Regions from separate parts of the Homo sapiens genome. Here regions 1 and 3 are each linked to region 2. The links are contacts of gene promoters, found by promoter capture Hi-C in blood cells and fetal thymus (Javierre and others, 2016). All regions are on one chromosome and are shown on one strand. Each heading gives the region's core, a stretch centred on a gene start or on the middle of the fragment in contact. The rest is flanking DNA. Distances are from core to core; before and after follow the strand shown. Region 1 holds the start of TRX-CAT1-4 (tRNA-iMet (anticodon CAT) 1-4). Region 2 holds the start of H4C2 (H4 clustered histone 2). Region 3 holds the start of BTN3A2 (butyrophilin subfamily 3 member A2).

The links. Contacts are between HindIII fragments. The CHiCAGO score rates a contact against its expected background, and 5 or more counts as called.
Region 1: a fragment that was not itself captured here is called in contact with the fragment with the promoter of H4C2 in region 2 in 1 of 17 cell types (neutrophils); the score reaches 5.9 in neutrophils.
Region 3: a contact is called between the fragment with the promoter of BTN3A2 here and the fragment with the promoter of H4C2 in region 2, in 1 of 17 cell types (neutrophils). The highest score is 9.6, in neutrophils.

The regions. Positions count from the first base shown.
Region 1 is chr6:26,328,916-26,332,546 of GRCh38, reverse strand. TRX-CAT1-4 (tRNA-iMet (anticodon CAT) 1-4) reads left to right here and starts at 2,175; the gene lies at 2,175-2,246. TRW-CCA3-2 (tRNA-Trp (anticodon CCA) 3-2) reads left to right here and starts at 1,032; the gene lies at 1,032-1,103. It overlaps LOC101928743 (a long non-coding RNA gene), which reads left to right and starts at 589. Exons shown (of 3, transcript XR_241992.5): 1 at 589-820; 2 at 3,460-3,537. It overlaps LOC124901288 (a long non-coding RNA gene), which reads right to left and starts at 729. Exons shown (of 2, transcript XR_007059522.1): 1 at 640-729. RefSeq lists a silencer at 494-675. The HindIII fragment of the contact is 1,422 bases long and covers 1,518-2,939 here.
Region 2 is chr6:26,025,941-26,029,280 of GRCh38, reverse strand. H4C2 (H4 clustered histone 2) reads left to right here and starts at 1,998. Exons shown (of 1, transcript NM_003544.3): 1 at 1,998-2,385. The coding sequence starts at 2,029. The coding sequence ends at 2,340. RefSeq lists enhancers at 173-758, 759-1,343, 1,344-1,929, 1,906-2,225, 2,246-2,305 and 2 more. The HindIII fragment of the contact is 5,368 bases long and covers 1-3,340 here.
Region 3 is chr6:26,363,319-26,366,621 of GRCh38, reverse strand. BTN3A2 (butyrophilin subfamily 3 member A2) reads right to left here and starts at 1,424. Exons shown (of 11, transcript NM_007047.5): 1 at 1,270-1,424. RefSeq lists an enhancer at 1,417-1,466. The HindIII fragment of the contact is 4,055 bases long and covers 1-3,205 here.

The DNA.
Region 1 (3,631 bases), core at 979-3,478, 300 kb before region 2:
TCTACAGGTCAAACACAAACTCCTTCAATTTAGGATTTATGGTCCTTAACAATCGCCAGCTGGAGCCCTTGGGCTTTGGACAGTTTTTCAGAATTAAGACAGGGAAACCTTTCTCTAGTCCACAGCAAGGCGGGGGAAAAGGTGGGGCGGGGTGGGGCGAGGCGGGGGGTCCTTAATTTTCAGAGAAAGATGAGTGTTTTATAGCAGTGGACCACTTTTTGGAATATCTTTTCCTAAGAGTTCAAAGCGGCCCCTGCACTATTTGCGGAGATCGTCTGTATGTAAATTCGGGGTCCCCAGACAAACCCCGCTGACTTTAGAAAACTCCGATCTCTGGTTACCCAAGGCAGGTTCTTTAACCAGCCAAACAAAGCACAGTGCCAGAATAACCCACTTACTCCTGATGACAGGATTTCTTGTTCTTTTTAGGGTCAGTTTCAGGTCCAGCGATCTGATTTTGAAGAATTATCGGGGTGTGAAATCAACTCTCTCATCAGCTGAGAACGGAGGCTACAGGGAGGCGCCGTTATCTCTCAGAAAAGATGCAGCACAAACAACCTGCCAGCCCCCGCGTGAATTCGTTAACGGAAACACTGGTTGTGACCTGCAGTGAACTTTGGAAACGAATTTAAAACTCACCTTGATCAGAGTTCCTTAATGAGGAGTTGGGAGAGGAAGGATCCTCATTATTCCCTCTTCGCTACCTCCTCTCTACAACCCCATTCCAAAGCGACTGACCTTCAACAGAATGTATTTCTATAAAGATAAAAACAACGAAACTCCCAAGACGTCTATATTTGGAATATACAGGGAAAACTAGGTAAGAAACGGAATGAAATATAAACAAGAACAGGTGAAAATGAAGCAATTCAGAGGCAGAGAAAATCAGTGATTGGGCGGACAGCAATTTTACCGAGAGGGAAGCAGCTAGGCACTATTTTGTATCTGTTAATAGCTGCCTGGTCTTCACCAGTACCGAAATTATTTTCATGAATCAGATTGACAGGTAAATAAAACGTAGGTGTCCCGGAGACCTCGTGGCGCAACGGTAGCGCGTCTGACTCCAGATCAGAAGGTTGCGTGTTCAAATCACGTCGGGGTCAACAGTTTTTAGCTCGCTGGCTCAGATAACTGTATGGCGGGGAGTACATTACATATTACAGGGGGAAAAAAGTTGCTTTTCCTGCTTCTCTTAGGCACTTGTATACTCAGTTACTTTAGCCTCCTCAAAACTACCCCCTTCTCTTTTTTTAGTAGGAAGATATATACAGGAATATGTTATGGTATTTTGGGGCTTATTTCCGGGTTTATAGAGACGTTTTCACTCTTTTATTGCAAACATTCTGAATTATACTCTTCAGCAACTCATCCCTATTGTTAAACCCTCCTGGACTTCTCTCCATACTCACTCCCACGCCCGCGGCCTTATCTTTTCATCCATGTCTGTCTCTCCAACCTTCAGAAGCTTAGCAGATCTTCGCAGAGACGTAGTCTGGTTTGAGTGGATGACCTAAGCTTACCTGCTTCATATTTGGATCAGCTGTTCCAGGCTAAAGCGATTCCATTGAACTTCCCTGGATCTCTGCGATTTCCTCAACCCTCCCTGCAAATCACGGAAGAAGTCACTTGATTTCCAGAGGCAGAAAACCTGAATGCAGTTACTTTCTCAAATTCATACAGGGAATGAACCATTACATCAGAGAAGGCTAGCTATTCCGTGAACCCCCTTATAGTATTATCTGAAAATGTGCATGAATGTGCCGTTTTTTTCCCCACATGTGGCTCAAGACCCCCTACAGATTATGAATTAGCAAATTACAACATGGAAAAAAGGAAAAGTACGTTTATTTCTTCAGAAGTGTTTAAATTTTTATAACTTACAATGACTTTAAAACATGACATTTGAAATATTAGCAGATTTTCTCTTATGTATTTACTGTACACATTCACACAATACACAGTGACAAACATTACATCGGAGAAGTGTACCTAAAATAACCTTTTTCCTATTTCTTATTAACTCTTTTCTTAGTAGTAGTCTAAGCCTATGGCCATATTACGAACAGATTACTGCTCTGGAAAAAAAAAAAAGAGAGAAGACATAATTTTGAGATTTGGAAACTTGACACGCTAGAAAAAAGGTGACTATTAACTCTGGGACCTGTGACTCGCGTAGCAGAGTGGCGCAGCGGAAGCGTGCTGGGCCCATAACCCAGAGGTCGATGGATCGAAACCATCCTCTGCTAGGGAGCGTTTTGTGGATTTGTTTTTCCCCCTTCCAAAAATAGATCTACCTCATAGGAGGAGGAAATTGGTATAATTGTCATGGACACCGTAAGGGAACTTATTTTGATTTGCACCTCTCTCAGAGATCTATATCTCTGGTTGCAATACATTACTATCCTAATTAGATTAAAAATAACAAAAGCAGTAGTTTTAGCTTTGATTGTTTGAACAGTTAATAGATACCATGCACTATTCCAAGTTCTGAATCATTTATTCCTCGCAATTCTACGAAGTAAATACTTGCTATTACTCTTACTTTACAAATGAGACAAATTGGGGTTTGTCTGCAAGTTGGGGTTTGCAGAGGTTAACTAACTTGCCCAAAGTCATGCAGCTAGTAAATGGTAGAGCAAAGATAAAACTCTAAACCGCCGTTCTGCATAATTACAAACACTAATATTTACAGCAAACTTCAAAAGTTATTTCAGCTATTCCTTCCGAGTTTTATTAGTAGGACATGAACTCACCTAGTATTATTAAATCCCTAGTAAAATGAGAGGTACCATATGTGACATATAGTAACATGTCCAGATTTGAGCAGGCTGTAGGTGACACTTTTTTTCCTGTTCTTATTTTTCTGTTTACTCAAACTAATACAGATGCATAAGGAGACATGTTTAAAGTAGGATGAAATCTACAGACTGTGCAAAGCTTTTGAACTTTTGGAGAAATGTTTAGACAACTGACGAAATGCTTGGGGTTGAATTAATGAAAAGTGTCTAGAAGCTTAAGCAGTAAAACAACAAGAAAAGACAGTTATGTACTAATGCCGGGGAAAAATAAAAATTGCAAGGAAAGGAAAACTTAACAATGTATTTCTTTGCCCACTTGTTGAATTATGTTTATAAAGTTGTCATATTTTAAGCTACAAATATTAAAGTATCATGTATTGTGCTATAACCATATGAGAAGACTTAGAAAGGGAGCATGTGTGTGTCGGGGGTCCTGGGGTGTGAAGAAGAAAGTGAACCAGTTACTCCTCTTATATAAAGTCAACAGAAGGTCCATACAAACATATTATTTAGAGATATGTAGGTAAATAATTTTAAAATAAGCTATTTAAATGTTTAAAAAGTAGGCTTAACCACTCAGCCACGACTATAGGTGCCAAAAGTTTTCTTAAACGTCGTACATGTTATTATATGTCACATATTGTACCTCTCGCTTTACCAGGAATTTAATAGCTGAGTTCACGTCCTGCCAACAAAACTTAGAAGGAATCAACAAACTTCAAGTTCAGGCGCATATGTGGTAAGCTGAGAATGTTCTTTGGGTGTTTTCTATAATGCAAATCAGGAATATGTTTCAATAACTTTAAAAATTGCTAGAGGACAGGGAGCAGAGA
Region 2 (3,340 bases), core at 749-3,248:
GGTAAAATTTTGCCTCCCTACAAGATAGAGATTGTGTGCATTAAATGTTGTTTGTTCCCAGTTGTTCAGTTTGTCAGGCCTCTGAGCCGAAGCTAAGCCATCATATCCCCTGTGAACTGCACGTATGCCTCTAGATGGCCTGAAGTAACTGAAGAAACACAAAAGAAGTGAAAATGCCCTGTTCCTGCCTTAACTGATGACATTACCTTGTGAAATTCCTTCTCCTGGCTCATCCTGACTCAAAAGCTCCCCCACTGAGCACCTTGTGACCCCCACCCCTGCCAGCCAGAGAACAACCCCCTTTGACTGTAATTTTCCACTATCTACCCAAATCTTATAAAACGGACCCACCCCATCTCCCTTCGCTGACTCTTTTCGGACTCAGCCCGCCTGCACCCAGGTAGAATAAACAGCCTTGTTGCTCACACAAACCCTGTTTGATGGTCTCTTCACACGGACGCGCCTGAAACAGTTTAACAGGGTTTTTCCTGCCCAGTCACAACAAAGTGATGTTATGCTGCAGGCTGAAGTTTACAGCTAATGCTGTTGAAGTCTAAAATCAGTTTTGGTTTGTTAGATTTGGGTGAGATGGCTAAGATTCTCAGAGAAAGAAGTCAAGTTTGGGGTGCATTTTTCAGACTTAAAAATTTAGCAGTAGCCCTTGCAGTTTTTCCAATAGAAGTGATTTAAGAATGTTTTCAGGAAATTTAAAACAACAGTGAGAAGCGTGTATGGAGAGTTGAACTACACTCCAGACTTGGCTATAGGAAAGCACGAATGCTGCTATTGTATTGCACCTTGGAAAAGAGAACAAAGGAATATTTTCGGACAATTTTAACATGTCACATATGAAAAGCTAAACGGAATCTGTCAACACCTTGTACGTTATTACAGGCTGTGATTTTAAAAAAACAATCCTTACTAATACATACATAGTTGCTGCTAGCAATATAGTGTTGGGAGTAAAAACACGAAAATGAGAGTTCAGGACAATATCCCAACTCTGAGCAGATTTTTTTAAGTAGTAACATCTAAAATTAAACCATATTATGTAATATTTATTTCTTTTCCACAGTCTCTTCTCATGCCTCGTTCACATTAGCTAATTAAAAGTCCCCTGAGTATCATCATAACCCGATTTACAGATGAAGGCACGGTTGCAATGAGCTATCACCCTCTTCTGAATGAGACAGTACAGTGTGAAGGATAGCAAAACTCCACTCCCATCCTCTTAGGGCTCTGGCTGGACCAGCAAATTAAATTAATGTAAAATGGATTAACAGGAGAAAGGTATATGCATTTATTTAACACAGGTTTTACGTGACACAGGTGCTCTCATAAGGTAATGAAAGCCCAAAAAAAGCAGTTAGCTACTTATATAATGAATTGGACAATTAGTAAAATGTAAAAATGCGCTAAAGCAAAGGGATTTAGGCTAGAATATATAACTGTGTAGAGAAGCGCCCAGCAAGGGCTAGTGCAAGGTTTGTACAGAATTCTCTTGGCCTCAGCCTCCTATCCTTGAGAAGAATGTTGCTTTTTTTAAACTACAGTGAGAACATCTTTCATATGAGAATTTCACCTACTGCTTCTAAGAAACAGGTCAGCTTTCAAGAAAACATAAGGCCAGAGTGATCTTTTCACGCCTGCTCTTTTAAGTACCTTTGAATAGTCAATATGTCTTCAAGCACTTGAAAGACTTAAAAAGTTTACCACTCCGGCATATTAGTGAAAGCCCTTAATATAAGCCCTTATTAAAATTCTCAGTCGAGGGTATAAATTCAGATTCAAATAGTAGTGTCGTAAACGGGAGGGAAAAACTAAAGGGATTAAAAAGTGAAACTATTGTGTTCTCCCTCGCAGTCCTTAGGTCACTGCCCCTCGAGGGGCGGAGCAAAAAGTGAGGCAGCAACGCCTCCTTATCCTCGCTCCCGCTTTCAGTTCTCAATAAGGTCCGATGTTCGTGTATAAATGCTCGTGGCTTGCTTTCTTTTCGCGTACCTGGTTTTTGTTGTCAGCTGGTTAGACATGTCTGGTCGCGGCAAAGGCGGTAAAGGTTTGGGTAAGGGAGGTGCCAAGCGTCACCGAAAAGTGCTGCGGGATAACATCCAAGGCATCACCAAACCGGCCATTCGGCGCCTTGCTAGGCGTGGTGGGGTTAAGCGAATTTCCGGTTTGATTTATGAGGAGACTCGTGGCGTTCTCAAGGTGTTTCTGGAGAACGTGATCCGGGACGCCGTGACCTACACGGAGCACGCCAAGCGCAAGACTGTCACTGCCATGGATGTGGTTTACGCGCTCAAGCGTCAAGGACGCACTCTGTACGGCTTCGGCGGTTAATCTTTTCGTCAGTTTTCTTCCAATGGCCCTTTTCAGGGCCGCCCACTCCCTCTCAGAAAGAGCTGTGATTGTATTCTTTCGGATGGTAACATCTCAATGGCTTTACTCGGCTATTCTGCCTAGTATGTAGAACTATTATAAACCAGTTGGGAGAGACCAGGTTGTTTGGTCTGAGTGGCTGCTAAAGCAGAAATCAGCTAAGTAAACGAGGTCTCCGAGATAAGTGAGCTATAAACTTCAATGCTATAGTTTTGACATGTCAAGCAACTTAACGTGCAGCGCGAGTCCGATAAATGAGTAGCTCAGCTTTTTAGTTTTAAAAACGAGTTGTGCGTTATTTGTACGAGAGCCTAAGATGCTAGCTGCCTGGAACTGAGTAGGTGGATTAAAATGGGTGTCAGGTCTGTTTTCCCAGGCGTATCTGACTTAACGTCAGCAAAAGCTGTACTTTTAGCTTCCCTGGTAACACCTGCCGTCCTTAACCGCCCCCTGCCGGTAGCGCCAGAAGCCTTTACTTCCATTTCTAGTTGAGCTTGGCGTCCTGCTGAGTGACGTCACCTCCCCCTTCTCTGGAGTAGGACTGGCGGTTAAAGCTGCTTTGCTATTTTCAGTCCTCAGGCTGGAGGCTCCCCTAAGCAGGCTGCCTACGCAGTTCGTAAATTCCCACTTAGTAGACTAAGGGAGTCTGTTTTATAAATAAGGACTCAAATTTCTTCTGACTCCGAGGTCCGTGGCAGCAGCTATAAGATGGAAGCCCCCTCTGATGTAAGATTCTCAGATGACTTGCATCTTCACTGTACCTGTCAACCCAATAGTCTTCTATTCCTGCCTTAAATTGTAAATTCCAAAACTGATTTAATTGTGAAAGTTTCAAACTGTACGACCTAGGAAGTGTCAAAGTTAGGTGACCAGATTTTTAGAAGTCAGCCAAATATTCAGCATCTTTGATTTAGTAACAAATATATTGATGGCTACTTCAGCAAAAAAAATCAACTTTGTT
Region 3 (3,303 bases), core at 175-2,674, 340 kb before region 2:
AACTGCTCTTTATTCTCCTAAGGAGAAGGAGGTATTATTAAGCTAAGCTAAAAATTTCTCTGCTGTCCTCAGAGGGAGAACTTTTATTTTTTAGGTTATTTATTATTCATTCTTTCTACTATAGACAATTTTGCCAAAGAAAAAAATATAAAGGAATAAAACCTTAAATACTCTGTAGTTATATACTTTGCTAATGGAAGTGGAAATGTTTCTGGAAGCATTTGGCCATGTACACATGGCAAGTGCCTTTAAAATGTTGTATTATTTGCCCCCAAAATTCCAACTATAAAAGTTAGTGTTGAAGAAAAAAATTTAGAGATTGATGCAAATATTTATGGATAAGGCTGTTCAATCTAGTAAAATCTACAGTAACAAAATGTAGAAACTGAAAAATCCAAAATAAAGAGTTTTAAAAATAATTCGGGTTTTTTATTTGTTTGTTTGTTCTTTTTTCTTCTTTAGGAGCGGCTTTCTGAGTCAGAGTAGGCTCACAGAGACTCCCAATAATTATATATTCATACAATGTAGTAGCTTGTAACCATGGGAAATCATGCTTTAGGTTTTGGGGAAATGATGAATGGAAAGAAAACCAAGTACTATCCCTAAAAGATACCAAAAATGGTTTAATATAAGGATCCAGTGTTATTAAAATTATAAAGAATTTCACTTAATTAAAATTATGATTCCTAATGGTTACATGGAACATGTTTTATGACTGAACCATGCATTGTTTGTCTATTCCCCACCTGTTGAATATGTATGTTGGTTCAGATTTTACTATATTATAAATACTTCTGTAATAAACACATTTACATATAAATCTATGAGGCACATCTCTTTTTTCTTCTTCTTCTTCAGAATTTCTCAGAATAGATGCCTTGAGTTGGCCAGAACAGATTTTAAGGGTTTTTTGTTTGTTTGTTTGTTTGCCCTTTTCTGACCACAATACGTTAAGAACATGCAGTTGGAATATTTCTTCATTCATGTTGTCTCCCTTTCCTTCCACTAAATCCCAACCTCTGCAGTTCCTTATACTTTGCAGTACTTCTCCCGTCTTCCCACGTGCCCATATGTGCATGTGCGAGTGTGCACATGTACACATGTACACACACACACACACACACACACACACACACACACACACACAGGCACTGCACCCCTTTCTCTGGGAGAGTACTCTCCCTGCATGCCCACTCACCACTCTCAGCGATTCAGCCCCGCTCCTCCCATGCGTTGTAGCCCAGGCTCTAATCAATTTCCTGCACTTACCCCTTGGTATTCCCATTGGAGAATCAGAGCCCACAGAATAAAGACGGTCAATCAATAATTCTCCATTCTTTCTATTATGGCTTAGCCTCTCATCCGGAAGAAAGGAAAAAGAGAAAGCAAATATTGTCTTCTCACCATGAGAAACAGTAAGAGTCGCTCTTTGGAAGAATTAGTTTTTTGATTGGCTCAGAGGTGATGTTTCTCATCAGTTGCTGGGCAGAAACCACTGAGGAACGTTGAAATGAAAACTGAAAGTACATTGAATTGTACACGTTGAGGAAAAACTCCAGCCCTACCTCCCTTAGTGTTTGTGTTTCTGTGTTTATCTATTTGAATCATTCTTGTGCGTGGATGTATATAAGTATTTCTTTATATTCACCTGTCTCGTGTCTTTTACATGGTAATAGAAATATTAGCAGAATGGAGTAGGAAAGTAAAAAAATTTAATGTGCAAAGAGAGGAAGATGTGCACTAATTAAGATGCTTCTGTGGCAGTTTGCTTGCATGTAGATAGGTACGTAGAAGAGGAGGATCTTTTTTACAGAGCCTAATAAAGGTATGAATGGAAAGAAAATGAGACAAACTGCACCTCTTTAAGAACTTCTGGCATTTAGGCTTAGGATATGGTATCAAATAATATAATTTTTCTGATTTCCAGAGGCAGTGCTGCTTGACATTGTTTTACCTTTCCCAGGAAATTCTTACTGCAGATCTTTCTGAGCATCTTCATTCACCCTCAGCTCCTGGTTTGTGCTATATTGTATTTTCTTGGGTATTTGTTTCTCACGCTGCCAGTGGAGTACATATTCTCTGAAGCTAGACACTCCATAGGCTGTGGTCTCTGTAAGGCTCGTTTCCTGTACACCATCTCTGTAAGGAGTTTATGGGACAATCTTGTTCTCCCTGTGGCTTACGACCTCAAAACACACTTTTTTGGGCTGCAAGCCAGAAATCTCCTAGAGCTAATATGTGACTGGAGCTGATGGGATTTGATTATATTGCAACAGTTTGAATTTAGGCTGTGTGGTATCTGCTTGAGATGGCTGGTTGCTTCTGCAGCGTGCATGCCCCCTTCTTCTTAGTGACAAGGCCTAATTTTCTGGGGTACTGCATCCTGCTCTTCCCCCTTGAAGATAGGGCAGGCCAAGGGACTAAGTTGGAGCCAGCGGTTTGTAGGTGAAAGTTGTGGGCTTGTACTTCTCCCAGAAATCCTTCAAAGGGAGGCCAAAATAGCTGGGAGTGTGAGGGTACACTCTCCCTTCTTCCTTCTTCCTCTTGCCTAGAACATGGACTTTGGACCCGGAGGTGCAGTAGCCCACCCTGGGACCATGAGGCAGCCTTGAGGTTGGAAGCCACACACTGGGACAGCAGAGAATGAAGTCAGAAGCAGGCTGGGGCATGAATGACATATCTGAGGTGCCAGATCAGCCCTGGACTGTCACCATCTAAATTTATTTAAAAAATTTTTTCTTTTAAAATATTTTATTATATATTAGTACTCAGGGTAAATTTCCAAATAAGTTTGTTTTTCATGAAAGGAAAACAAATCCTTGTTTTATTTAAGCCAGTGGTACTTCTGGTCTCTGTTATCAACAGAAAAACACAATTTTTCCCTCCCCCTTCCCCCTCCCCAACAGTTTATTATAAAACTTCTAAAACATATAGCAAAGGTGAAAGAATTTCAGTAAATTCCAATATATCTACCATGTAGATTGTATAATTAATATTTTAGTTTCTTACTTTATTATAAATCCATCCTGCTGTTCACCCCTATTCATCCATCAATATTTGTTTATTTGTTCATTTGTTTATTTTTAAATTCAGACTCTATCAGAAGCTGTGCTGCTTGAGATCGTATTAGTAAGAATGAACATCCCACCTTTGCCTGGAGGGTCCAAGTCACTTTGACACAAAGAAGCAGCCAATGTGCTAAGCTTCAGATTAGGAGTTTCTGAGCCCAACTCTTCATATCTCTGAACTTTGTAGTTTCCAAACTATGAGACCCCTAAGTTCATTTCTCACTCAATGTCTTTG